Regions from separate parts of the Homo sapiens genome. Here region 1 is linked to region 2. The links are contacts of gene promoters, found by promoter capture Hi-C in blood cells and fetal thymus (Javierre and others, 2016). All regions are on one chromosome and are shown on one strand. Each heading gives the region's core, a stretch centred on a gene start or on the middle of the fragment in contact. The rest is flanking DNA. Distances are from core to core; before and after follow the strand shown. Region 1 overlaps LOC105369321 (a long non-coding RNA gene). Region 2 holds the start of MS4A7 (membrane spanning 4-domains A7).

The links. The method cuts DNA at HindIII sites, captures the fragments that hold promoters and counts their contacts. A CHiCAGO score of 5 or more calls a contact.
Region 1: a fragment that was not itself captured here is called in contact with the fragment with the promoter of MS4A7 in region 2 in 1 of 17 cell types (naive B cells); the score reaches 5.9 in naive B cells.

Annotation. Positions count from the first base shown.
Region 1 is chr11:60,606,236-60,612,602 of GRCh38, forward strand. It overlaps LOC105369321 (a long non-coding RNA gene), which reads right to left. Exons shown (of 6, transcript XR_001748240.2): 5 at 5,009-5,172; 6 at 2,060-2,229. It also overlaps the pseudogene MS4A19P. Among named protein-coding and RNA genes, the nearest start is that of LINC00301, 6.3 kb to the right of the region's middle. The HindIII fragment of the contact is 461 bases long and covers 2,589-3,049 here.
Region 2 is chr11:60,376,594-60,383,013 of GRCh38, forward strand. It overlaps MS4A7 (membrane spanning 4-domains A7), which reads left to right and starts at 1,939. Exons shown (of 7, transcript NM_021201.5): 1 at 1,939-2,071. RefSeq lists enhancers at 971-1,210, 1,891-1,940. The HindIII fragment of the contact is 12,513 bases long and covers 1-6,420 here.

The DNA.
Region 1 (6,367 bases), core at 1,569-4,068, 230 kb after region 2:
CCTCAAGTAAACAAATGAAAGGTATTATACATATTAATAGATGCATTTTGAGTAACTAAGCATTATATTCAATTCTGGACCCACCTGATAGCCATGATATTTTTACGATGGGCAGCTCAGTTCATTCCAGGTACCTGCATCTCTGAGGTCAGTTCTCCCAGGCCTTAAAAGATCAAGTTTGTTATAGCAAGACTTGGTCTTCCAAGAAGGAACTGGCATACTCATGTACCTGTGATACCCAAGGGCTTATGTTCAATGTCAGGGCTGTAGTTTACAGACAGAATAAAGCTGAACTCTGTACATGTATGTAATTTTGAATGCACGTACTCAGTTCTATATCGTTCATGACTATGTGGACATTTTTGCACTGCCTGCTTTGAGTCTGTCAGTTGTTCAGCAGGTCTGTGGGAGTCTAACTGTGTTCACATTTGCATTTCAATATCTGTGTATATCTATGTTCCCATTCATGTGGAACTGTGGACATATGTGCATTTATCTGTATACATTTGTTGGTGTAGAGAGAAGGGGCTAGGAGGGCAAGAAGGCAGAAGTCAGTGCTAAGCAAGTTGTGCAGAAATTGAAGCGATAAGGGCCAAAGTCTTCTCTAGGATTTCGGTCCTTCTGCTCTATCCCATCTGCCCAGGGCTTGATGAAGGGCAAAATAGTGGGAACTTTTACCAATACTTAGAAATCAACTTTTCTGAATTGAACCCATTGGATATTGCCTGTATTTAAATTCCTAACTAATTAAGTAAACTCTCCTTACTTCAACATCCAAAACTCTTGGTTAATTATCTAGTTGCAAAGAATACACCAGTTTGCATTTTATTGGATTTTTCTTATTTCTATGTAGCTTTGAAAGTGATTTTACAGTGAGTGCAATGGTAAACCTCCTTAGGAACGATTTATGTCTCTGATTCAATAAAGAAATGAGTTTAGAAATTTTAAACTACTTGCTCAGAGTCACGTGGCTAGTCACTTACAGATCATTTTTTCTAATGCAGAATGGTTTTAAATTCTAAATTATCTTACCCCACAAAATGGAGCTTTTACAAAAATCAATTCAGTGGCACATCAAAGAATCATTTTGCTGCTGCGGAGAATGCTAATATTTTATGACACATACCCTGATGGATACCTTAAAGTGGTATCTTAAATAAATAGAAACATAAAGATATTGCTTAAGATTATATTTGTATAACAAGAATGGCTCATTTTATTGGATTGATCTTTAATTATGATCTTAACTCTTTCATTTTTCTAATTTATCTCTTAAACTATCATATTCATATTAGTAGGAAATCCAGAATCTTCCTTCTGAGGGCCCCTCCCTGTTGACCCTCTCAAGTTACTCAAAACCACTGGGATCCAAAGGTTCGATATTGACTCCAAGCCCTTAGTTAACAGAGTCATGTAGTACCTCATCAGTCCACCAGTGTGCCCTTAATTTCCACTGCTATGGTTCAGTTACTATTAAATGACGCCATTATTTAACACTGATTTGAGTAGCCCATGGTGACCTTGTCATAAAAGTGCACTGAGTACTGAAGAGGCTTGGGCTTCCAATATTACGGATTCTGTATTCTTGTCTCTAACCCAGCTATACTGTCAGGATATGGGTCTATTGGAGCTTATAGACAGAGGCACAATCCCAGGAGGAAATTCCTACCCCCAGGTCACATCAGCCCTTGTGTTGAGTCCAGGTTACAAGTCCAAACATTCTTTTCTTTCATTGTTTCTCTTTAGTGTCCTTTCCTATCAACAGGGCAAATTTATGTAAGTTTCTCTATTAAATAAGTTCTATAACACTAAACCTCAAGGGTGTCACAATTCCATCTTCCCCAGAGATTTATTGGACTCAATGAAAATTTCCTGTTATTATCCACAACAATAAACAGGAAAACACAATCAATGATTCTCATCATACATTTGGCAGAAATATATCAGTATATCATCATCCTCAATAATTATCCATTGTAATTACAATTAAAAAATATTTAAAATTCTATTGTTGAGGGTGGAGGATAGGGTGGGTAGTTTTTCTCTTCTATTTTTCTTCTTCAATTTTAAGATACCTTTATTATTTCTAAAGTGCTCACATAGAAAGATCTGTAAGGAATGTACATTTTCTTTGTGGATACAGAAAAGTGGCAAACTCCTTTCGGAATATCTGTTCATATTAACCATCTTGGAGTTGTTTGTGGCAAGTATAGTCAGCCACTGGGCATCCTAAGCAAAAAAGAGAAGAAGATAAAGATGCAGTGAGTATCCCATTTTTCCCTTAGTAGATCAGAAGATGTTGTCTTCTGTTATGAACACTATTTGAATAACTAAGGTTTTGATATGAATTAAGTATAAATAATGCCATCACTAAGCTGTGATTGTAGATAGCTGAAAACACTCGGCACTAACTGTCATGCACTTATATGGGTCCCTCCACAACTGAATAAATAATTTTCCCTTTTATAAAGGTGTTTTGCATTACAGGATGCTTTTATGTCCATAACATATGAGAGAATAAGGTAGAAGATATGTGATTTTCTGGCTCAGGTCTGTTTAATTCTACAGACATTACCCTGGAAACAAAAAGCTTTGTAGAAGTTGTTACCAGGCACGGGGATATGGGACTACTGAAGACTGAAGCCTTTATTTCTCAAAATTTGGGAGAACAAGTTGAATATCTAAGTGTAGAACTTTAGTGTCTTCAGAAACCAAGATTTGGGAGTAATGGAGAAGTTGAAAAAGATGGTAAAGCCTTTTTTCAATAAAGCTATTTTCCTACTTTCTCCATATCAACTACTTCACGTCTAAAGGAAAACTTAACCTCCATTTGACCTCACTAAATCAGAGAACTTCAATCTCACTAAATCAGAGAACTTCAGTGAAAGATATGCCTGCCCTTTTTCCCCAGTACCCACTCAACAGGCCGAGGCTTAGAGATCTATGAGATCATAAAAACAACTGAGAAGGAGACCACAGTTAACACAAAGAAGAAAGTGAGTTGTCCATATATCCTAGACCACATGTGTAGAAAGGTTTAGGAAATTTAAGCTTCCTCCCCATTTTACCACTTTCTAATCTCATCTGTTTGACCCTTTGACCTGCCTTCTTACCTGGGTCTTACTTAATCTCTTCAGGTTGCTGTTCTGTCCCTTGACTTTTCCAACTGTACCTCTATAGTTTTTGTATAGGCAACACCATATATACCTACAGCTTGGTAGATGTATACCATCTATAAATTTATAATAATCCAAATGTTAAATCTCCACCCTAGACCTTTCTACTGAGCTCTAGGCTCATATTGCCAACTTCTCTCTAGAGAGTTTGATTCGAAGGATTCCAAAGCACCTCAAATAAAACATATCTAAAACTGAACTAATCATCTCACCCACAAAGTCATTACCTTGTCTTTTCCATTTAAGAGCACCACCATCTATCTACCTGCCTGCCCTGGCGAGGGAGCTGAGAAATACTCTCAAATTGAAACAATTTGACAATCCTTTTTACATGATCCCCTAAATGTATTTCAATTCTGTCCTCTGTTTCTTCATCTCCCCAAATGAAAGTTTAAACAGGAAACACTTACCACACGAAAGCCTGATATTCTAGCACAACATTCATTTCTGTAATAATTTAGCCCAATCTACTTTCTTGACTTCATTTCCTACCACTCACGCCCATAAATGCTGTGCTCCAGCCTCACCAATTTACTTATCATTCCATAAATATGCCTTGTTAAGTTTACCATCTTAATTTGTAAATAGCTTTGTTTAGGAATCTCTATTTTGAATTAAACTGATAAAATGAATTAGGAGGGAGAGGAATTTATCATATAGATTTCTTTTCTTGTATTTCCCACTTTCTCTTGACACTCAGAGGCTACATCTTCATTTGTACTGCAAAAGTCACTTGCTTTTCAAAACATGTGAATTAGCTATAATTCCAGATGAATTAGGGTATTGAAAACCTGTTATCTGGATCACTGATTGCCTTTCAATGAATCTTCTTTAAGTAAGGTATTAAAATGGGGAGCTGAAGTTCCATCTAAAGGTATTCAAACTCGAAATCTCAAAAAAATATGGCTCTAACTAAAAGCAAAGTAAACAAAACACACCAAACACACACACACACACACACACACACACACACACACACTCACAGAGGTCTTATTCTTAATTCTTCTCTGAATAAAGTGAAAAGAGAACAAACATGGATTGGGTATATAAGAACATATAGATTTCTACTCCAACTAAATAGAATTTAAACTGACAGCTATTCAATGCTATACTTAATAATGTAATCAAGTTTGAGTAGAAAACAATATGCCCTTTATGATCAATCATTGTCTTGGGGACTGTCTTTTCATATAGCATTGTCTTTGGCTTTCAATCTATAGAAACAAAAAAGAAGGGAGGATGGAAACCAGGGAGAAAGGGAGAGAGGACAAAGAAAAAAACTAAAAAGTATCAAAAGCACATGGTTTAATTTAAAAATCTCGCCTGGTGGGGTGGTTCACACCCATAATTCCAGCACTTTGAGAGGCTAAAGCAGGGGAATTGCTTGAGCTCAGGATTTTGAGACCAGCCTGGGGAACACAATGAGACCCCATCTCTACAAAAATATAAAATAAAATAAAATAAAATAAAATAAAATAAAATAAAATAAAATAAAATAAAATAGTAAAGTAAAGTAAAATAAAATAAAATAAAATGCATAAAGTTGAAAAAATTACCCAGGAGTGGTGGCACATCCCTGCAGTCCTTAGCTACTTAGGAGGGGAAGGTGGAAGGAGGGCTTGTGCCCAGGAATTCAGAGTTACAGTGAGCAATGATAGTGCCACTGCATTCCAGGCTGGGTGACAGAGACCTCATCTCTAAAAAAATAAATAAAATAAAAATCTCAATGAGGAGAATACTTCTATTAGAATTATTTCCAAAATTCTAACCCAAATTCTATAGTTCTTTATTTTAGAGTGTGCTAATGATCAATTTACTGATATCTAACTTACCTCAGGTTCATGGCAGAAGGAGATCCTTTCTCTGCATATTAAAGAAACCATCAGTGAGCTCAGTCAAGGAGGAAAGTTTAGTGGCAAATGAAGAACTTCATTCTGTTCAAGAGGCTTCTTGGAAAATGTAATTTCATTAAATCCATCTCAGTATTCTCTTCCCCCTATTTCATTAATAAAAATTAAAATTGATGAATATGGTTATTTTTGTCTACATGAGGAACTGTGCATGAATTTATCTCAGTTTGAATATGGTCAGCCTGAGTTAAGGGATTCTTCCATACAAGAGAAGTTCTATGAATGGGCACATGTTACTAGAGTAGAATCTATACCTAAAATTGATAATGATGTAATAAATGCTAACTCGAGAAAATTATTTCATTGTGAGAAGGAGACTTCGCATAAATGATAAATAATCCCATTGCTTGTGAAGGCTTCTTTGCTTATTAGCTCTAAATACTACTAATTATTTCTTTCTCACTGGATATTATTAAAACATGCATAGCTTACCTACAGTGAAGAAGGTATATTACAATTAGCCATATCTTTATGTTATTGAGACTACATGAATTAATAGCTACTGGATTTAGTTTGTCTAGAAAGTCCAGCTCCCAAAACGTTACATATTTTTGCCTATAATTTTACACTGTGGCTTATCACACTCAAATTTTAAGCAAATTATCTTAGAAATGTTTTGTTGTGTCTATAAGGATGCTTCCTATTTTTTAAATTTTCTTTGATCTCCATACCCCACTCCCCCTTCCCTCCCTCCATGAGCAATTGTTCCACTTTATAAAACATGCATATTTTATTTGTCAGTATCTCCCCAAAAATGTATGGCATTCTATTGTAGGAATGTATCTGGAATCCATGAAGTTCATACACACCCATAAATTACATGCACAAACTTTGCTCCTCCTAACAGTAAGTTTTAAAGATCTATCCGTGTGGCTATCAGTACCTCTATCAGTTGATTTTAAATGCTGCCTAAAGTCTGTGCCATGCACCCCGCACATTTATACATTCGCTGTCCCAGAAATGGGCAACTGGGTTCCCCCCATCTTGCCCCTTAAGTAATTTGGGGGGATACAAATTCAAGATTAGAGTATCTGTGTTATTTACATATATGCCATTTGTTTATGAAGTGCAAAAATTTCCACCATTTAGAACAGTCTTCTGTTGCAGGTCCTTTATTATTGTGTGTTTTTCTTCAGTCTAGTCTGTATACTTTTGTTCTCTTAGGAATTCACAGATTCTGGTTCACCAAGAGAGTTGCTTCTTATTTTTCAATGTGGCAATGGAATTTTTTTTGTAAGTGTGCTCCTTGGAATTGGAGTTCATATGAAGAATAAGTAGCAT
Region 2 (6,420 bases), core at 689-3,188:
TCATCTCCACTGCTAGAGAAAAAAAATACAGTTAGTCTGTCCAAGGCTGTTAGAGTCCTCCAACATATAAGACGCATTTCCATTTTACTAGCTTCATGGTCTGCTTGGGGTGGGGATGGCGGGGAGATCGTATCCTTGAAGTAGGCACTAGGACTGTGAGTCACTTGCCTGTCTAGAGCACCAGGACTGTTTGCAAAGGGCTGAGGAGATTTCCATCAATGGAAAAGAGCATGAATTTAGAGTAAACATAGATTACACTTAGAGATCAGAGATCAATCTAGAGATAAAATACACTTTTCTCTAAAGGGGGTGGGAGAAGATGTTGGACAAGAAATACCAGATTTTCTTAATGGTTCATTTATGTCAGGCTCTATGGTGGGGACTTTTATGTTATTTGACTTAATCCTCACAACAATTCTGAAAAATCTTTTTTCAAATTTTATGAGAAAGTGAACTGGATATTTAACTGATTTTCTCACGAATTCCTTCTGAGGCTCAGAAGTGTGAAAGAAGCCCAAATGACCAAGGTTCTTTAACAATTTGGTCAAAACAGGTCATAGACCCAGAGGAAGGTCTGGATCCTGGAAGTTTTCTTAAGCAAAGACAGTGCTTGTTGTGGATATGAAGATGTTGACTAAGCTGGGCACAGTGGCTCACACCTGTAATCCCAGCTTTGGGAGGCCAAGGCAGGTGGATCACCTGAGATCAGGAGTTCGAGACCAGCCTGACCAACATGGTGAAATCCTGTCTCTAGTAAAAATACAAAAATTAGACAGGCATGGTGGTGGGCACCCATAGTCCCAGCTACTGGGGAGGCTGAGGCAGGAGAATCACTTGAACCTGGGAGGTGGAGGTTACAGTGAGCTGAGACTGCACCATTGCACTCCAGCCTGAGCAACAAGAGCAAAAAACTCCATCTCAAAAAAAAAAAAAGATGTTGACCAAATGGCAGACTCTTGCCATGAAGCAAGCCCAGACCTCAGTGCCAAGAGATGTGAATTAGATTCCTGCCTCTTCCACAGACTAGACATGTGACTGGGGGCAGATTCCTTCAGCAATATCACCTCATTTGGAGAAGAACTGGACTAAAATACCCTCCAAGTAGTTTATGAGTTATTTAAATCTCCCAGGCTTAGGTTTGCTCCTCTCTTAGGGGATAGCCTTGCCACCCTTCAGGAAATGGAGACTGTATATGGAGCATGTTGTGCCGCCAGCTGCTGCATGTCCCAGAGCCATCTTAAACCCTACCCTTCTGAACAATGGCTAGTCTACAAGAAGCCTTAAAAGGGATGTGAAAGTGGCAACAGTGTCCCCTCAACAACAAATACTTCCCCAAATATGAGCTTGTGTGGAGCCTGATGACTCTGCCTCTGAGGCCAATCCACTGGCATCTTTCCCAAGATGTGCCTGGACTTCCCTGAGCATGAGGCCAAAGATGGAGAATGGAAACACCCAAAAGAAGTAACAAGGAGACACGGAATTTTCCACAGGTTGCTTTCAGCTTACCAAGAGCCTGGAAAGTGAGAGAATAGATTCTCCAAAATTCAAAACTAACATTACTATTATCAATATTTATTGTCTACTTTTTGTAAACTCTTTGCATCTTTTTTCTTTAATTCTCCCAACACCCACAGAGTGGAATTATTATTATCCATCCACCATTTATTTAATAGACAAGAAAACTCAGGCTAAGCAAAACTAGATGACTTAAATAATTCTATGTAGGAGTAGGGAAAATGAATTTTAACTGGGACCGTACAAATCACTAGTCTGCACAAAGGTCTTTTTCTCATGTGTCACTTCTATCTTGTGTCATTTTGCCAGACCTCAGAATTTAGAAAGAGGAAGCAGAGGCACTTTTTATATATCAACTGTCTGTAACTACAGCAAAATTCACATCCTGTGTAATCATAAATACTGCTCTAAGAAAGGGACAGGAAGTCTCAGAGGCTGGAGAGCAGAGCACCAAGATCGTTCTGGCAGGAACAGCCAGTGGGAGGTTCCAGCTGAGCGCTCCCCAGAGGTGAGCTGATCCCCAGCCACAGCACACAGGACCAGGCTGCGAGAACAGGTAGACACCTTGGTTTAGATCATGACTTTTGGGGAAGATTGTGTGCTTTTGAAAAGACAGCCAGGGAATTGGATTATCATCCTGTCTCTGATTCTGACCACCTGTGTGAGTTGGAGCGTCAGCTCAGTCCCCTTTTTGGGTCTCAGTTTACTCACTTGTCAAATAAGAAAATTGGGTAAAACCATTCTTAGGTTTCCCTCATTGAGGTGATTTTCCTCAATGTTCTGCATTCTCCTGGTGTGTCACTCAGTCTTACAGAGTCTACTCTCAACAAATACTGTGCAATTAGACTGAATCTTGCATTAGAACCCCATGGTCCTACTCTAATTCTGTAATACAGAAAATTGCTGGGCAGAGCTGTTGACCTCCATGTCATGATTTATCTTCAAAGCACGGATTTTAGAGCTGTCTTGAAAGCTGTGGGTCCCTCCAGTCTATCTCCTCAAGGCGAATGTGGAAGGACAAAGCATCCTCTCAGACTGTGGTGTTTGGAGATGATAGCATCAGTCTGGAGACTTTTGTGAAACATAAAGAATCTTGGTTATATAGGATTCCTTCTAAAAGTAGCAACGTGTATCTAAATTCAAGTGTCATAGATTTAAATGTAATAATTCCACTTCCATACATCACTGTGAGATAATTAAATGCAGGAGGTATCACAAAAGTGCAAAGATGTTCATTATTGCATTGTTCATAGTGGCAAAAAGAAAAAATAGAAACCACCTAAATAGTCATGAACATGTGATTGATTAAATGAATCTAGAGACCTCCATTTATTTAAATATACCATTTGGCTTTTTGGTTGTAGTAAAATATGCTTAAAATAATTGTAGCCTTTTAACCATGTGTTTTTTTGTTGTTTTTTGTTTGTTTGTTTGTTTGTTTTTTAATTGAGAAAGAGTTTTGCTCAGTCACCCAGGCTAGAGTGCGTGATCTCGGCTTACTGCAACCACTGTCTTCCAGGTTCAAGCGATTCTCCCATCTCAGCCTCCTGAGTAGCTGGGATTACAGGCACTCACCATCATGCCTGGCTAATTTTTGTATTTTTTTAGTAGAGACGGGGTTTCACCATGTTGGCCACGCTGGTCTTGAATTCCTGACCTCAGGTGATCTGCCCGCCTCGGCCTCCCAAAGTGCTAGGATTACAGGCATGAGCCGCTGCACCCAGCCTTAACCATTTTTAGGTGTACAGTTCAGTGGCATTAAGCACATTCACACCATTGTGCAACCATCACCACCACCCAACTCCAGAACTTTCTTGTCTTCCCAAACTGGAACTCCGTGCCCATTAAACAATAGCTTTCCATTCCCCTCTCCCGCCAGCCCCTGGCAACCACCATTCTACTTTCAGTGAATTTGACTCTTCTAGGTGCCTCACATAAGTAGAATCATACAATATTTGTCCTTTTGTGACTGGATTATTTCACTTGCCATATTGTCTTCAAGGTTCATCCATGTTGTGCCATGTATCAGAATCTATCATTTGCTTTTAAATTTAGGCTTTTTATTATTTCTATTCATCGGTCAAAGATGTCTACAGAATAATGTTGAGTACAAAAAGAACAGTTATAAAATGGCATGGATAGAATGACTATTTCCGTAGAATTGTGAATGTCTGTGAACATATATAAAGAGGAGAGAGATAAAGTGACAGATGGGAAGAGAGAATGTAAAGAATATGTGCATAGGAAACAAGAGTGATCGGGTGGCAGTTGAAAGTTAAGGAGCTAATTTGTTTTCTTCTTCAAACTGTATTCCCTTGTAATGGTGGTACTTTATGCACTCTTTCAAACAGAACAAACAGTTAAGAAATAACAAAGGAAAATAAATGTTCATGGTATCAGATAGGCTATAGCCTGAAAGTATCAATTAAACTTTCGAGTCCTAGCTTCAGGCTGAGAATCAAGCATTTTCTGCAGTCCTTAGGTATGAGATTCGAAAAATAAAGAAAGGAACCCAGAACTCAGGAGGCTGGTGACGAAGACTAGTAGGAAGGAGTCTAGTTGGTATATTTGGGCTATTGAGCCACACAGAGCAAGGTAAAAGCCAAGTTTCTACAACATGAAAGCAAGTTGGGAAAAAGAAATCTTCAACCTATATTCCCTAAGATCAGCAATGTCCCTGGGAGAGGATATGGAACTGATGAGTGGCAGCCAATGCTTCAACAATAGGGGAGGAAGAATAGAGAGGATGAGAATCAGTTGTAGCTAGCCGGGCAAGAACAAACCTACAGGGATATAGAAGAGCTCTGGTGTTAGATGGCCTGTGCCCAAATCTTGCCTCCACTACCTGCTAGATAAGCAATCTTGCACAAGCTATTTCACCTCTCCAAGCCTCATTTTTCTTATCTTCAAAGTTCAGCACCCATCTCTGAGACTGCAGATTAAATGAGACTGTCACAAAGCTCTTAATAGAATGCCACATTCATAGTACGTGCCCAATCAATGTTAGCAATGATTATCATTTTATCATGAACTACTGTTTGATTCTGGAACCTAGAATTTCTCTAAGCCTGACACTTTTTCTCCTTCTCTGGCTTTAAAGATGTGCTGGAAGGCTCACCCTGACTCCACTGCAGGGATTCAGCTTCAACATTATTCCCCTCATAGGACATGTAACCTCACCCACACTTCTACCCAGATTTCAAAATTCCAAGAAATGAAAACTATCTCCTTAAACAAAGAGAACTTTAGGTTTAATAATTCTTCAGATAAAGTATCTCATGCCCGGAGAGCATGAGAAACTAGACTAAGGCACAGATCTAGGAGTAGAAATAAAATGGAGGTCCAAACATGGATCGACTATTATGGAACACCTGATAAAACTCAGAGAGTTACAACAAAAGACACTCACGTGTGTCATTCAAATCCTCACAAGAGTCCTTCAGGATAGTGTCATTATCCTTATTTTACAGATAAGGAAACTGGGGATGAATGAGGGAAAGTATCCTGCCTACGGCCAGCTCATCAATATCAGAACTGGGCTTCCAATGAATATTAGATAAAACTGATATGTTTTGGGAGTTTATCACATGCCTCCCCCTATGCTGAGTCCATTATATGTGTCATCTTATCCAACCTGTACCACAAACCTATGAAGTGGTGAAAATACCTTGCCCAGGGTGAGTTTAGCAGTAACTGGTGGATATGGGATCTGAACACACGACTGGACTCCAAGACATATGGTCAGATGTGCAACTAGATGCCTAGGCATTGGACTCCCATCCCAGTGCACTTTTCCATCTCCCTCACTAGGAAGAGATTCTAGGTGTCATTTCCAATTTTTACATGTTCTTCACTCCACCCAAGAGAGGCCAGAACCATTCCTAAAGCACCAACACATTGAGGCAAAATGTCAGGCAGCAGAGCTGTGGCACCTTTCAAGGATGACAAGCCTTTAACTAAACTCTGGCCTTCAGTAGGGAGAATGTTGAGCTGAAAACAAATCTGGGCAACATTTCAGGTGCTGAGCCTTGTTGCTGACACCACAGAGGCCCAGCAATGCTGCTGAGTTAGTGGTGGCAGACAACTTGCTCCTGGAATCTACAAGGGAACTGGAAATGTTAGGAAGGAAGAAAGGAAGGAAGAGGAAGAGGAGGAGAATTAACATGGCATAGAGAAAAAAATATCACAAGCGTCTGAGCCAGACAAGTCTCAATCCAGTCATGTAAACACAGGCTGTTAATATTTGCTACCATATATTGAACACATTCTAAGTGCCAGGCTAAGTACTTTATGTGACTATTTCATTCAATAAAAGTCACTTGAGCTTATTAGCCCCAGGTTTCTAATGTATAAAATTGATTTAATAACATGTAAGTTACAGGGTTGTTATAAGGATTAGAGCTGCAATGGTCTAATGCTTGGAATTCAGCAGGAGTTAAGTAAATGTTTACATTACTAATTACGAAGCCAATATAAGCAAGGAGGAAGATTCCGGATGGGACAGGCCATCTCGCTATAGGAAAGGAAAGTGGAACAGCATTCATCCTCAACATTTTTACGAAGACAAAATGAAGACTGGAGTAGAAGACTGATCAGTGCAGGTGTAGCATAAAAGTGTAATCCTGGAAGATGTGGTGTGAGAAGGTAGCACAAGTGAAGCAGAGATACAGGAGATAGGGAAGGGAAGCTGGAAGCAGAGGTCACTGGAGGGAGAGGGAGATGGACACATTCAGGGCTACAAAGCAAGTTCTATGTGATTTGCTCACCTCTCAATTGTGGGACCCCTCAAAATGTGTACAGTACTCTCCCAGTGACATGCTTCTTGACCACAATGGATGAACTGTGCCCAGCATGCCCACTTTCCAATGCTCCACTGATCCCCATGTTTTGTTTCTGAAGGACAAC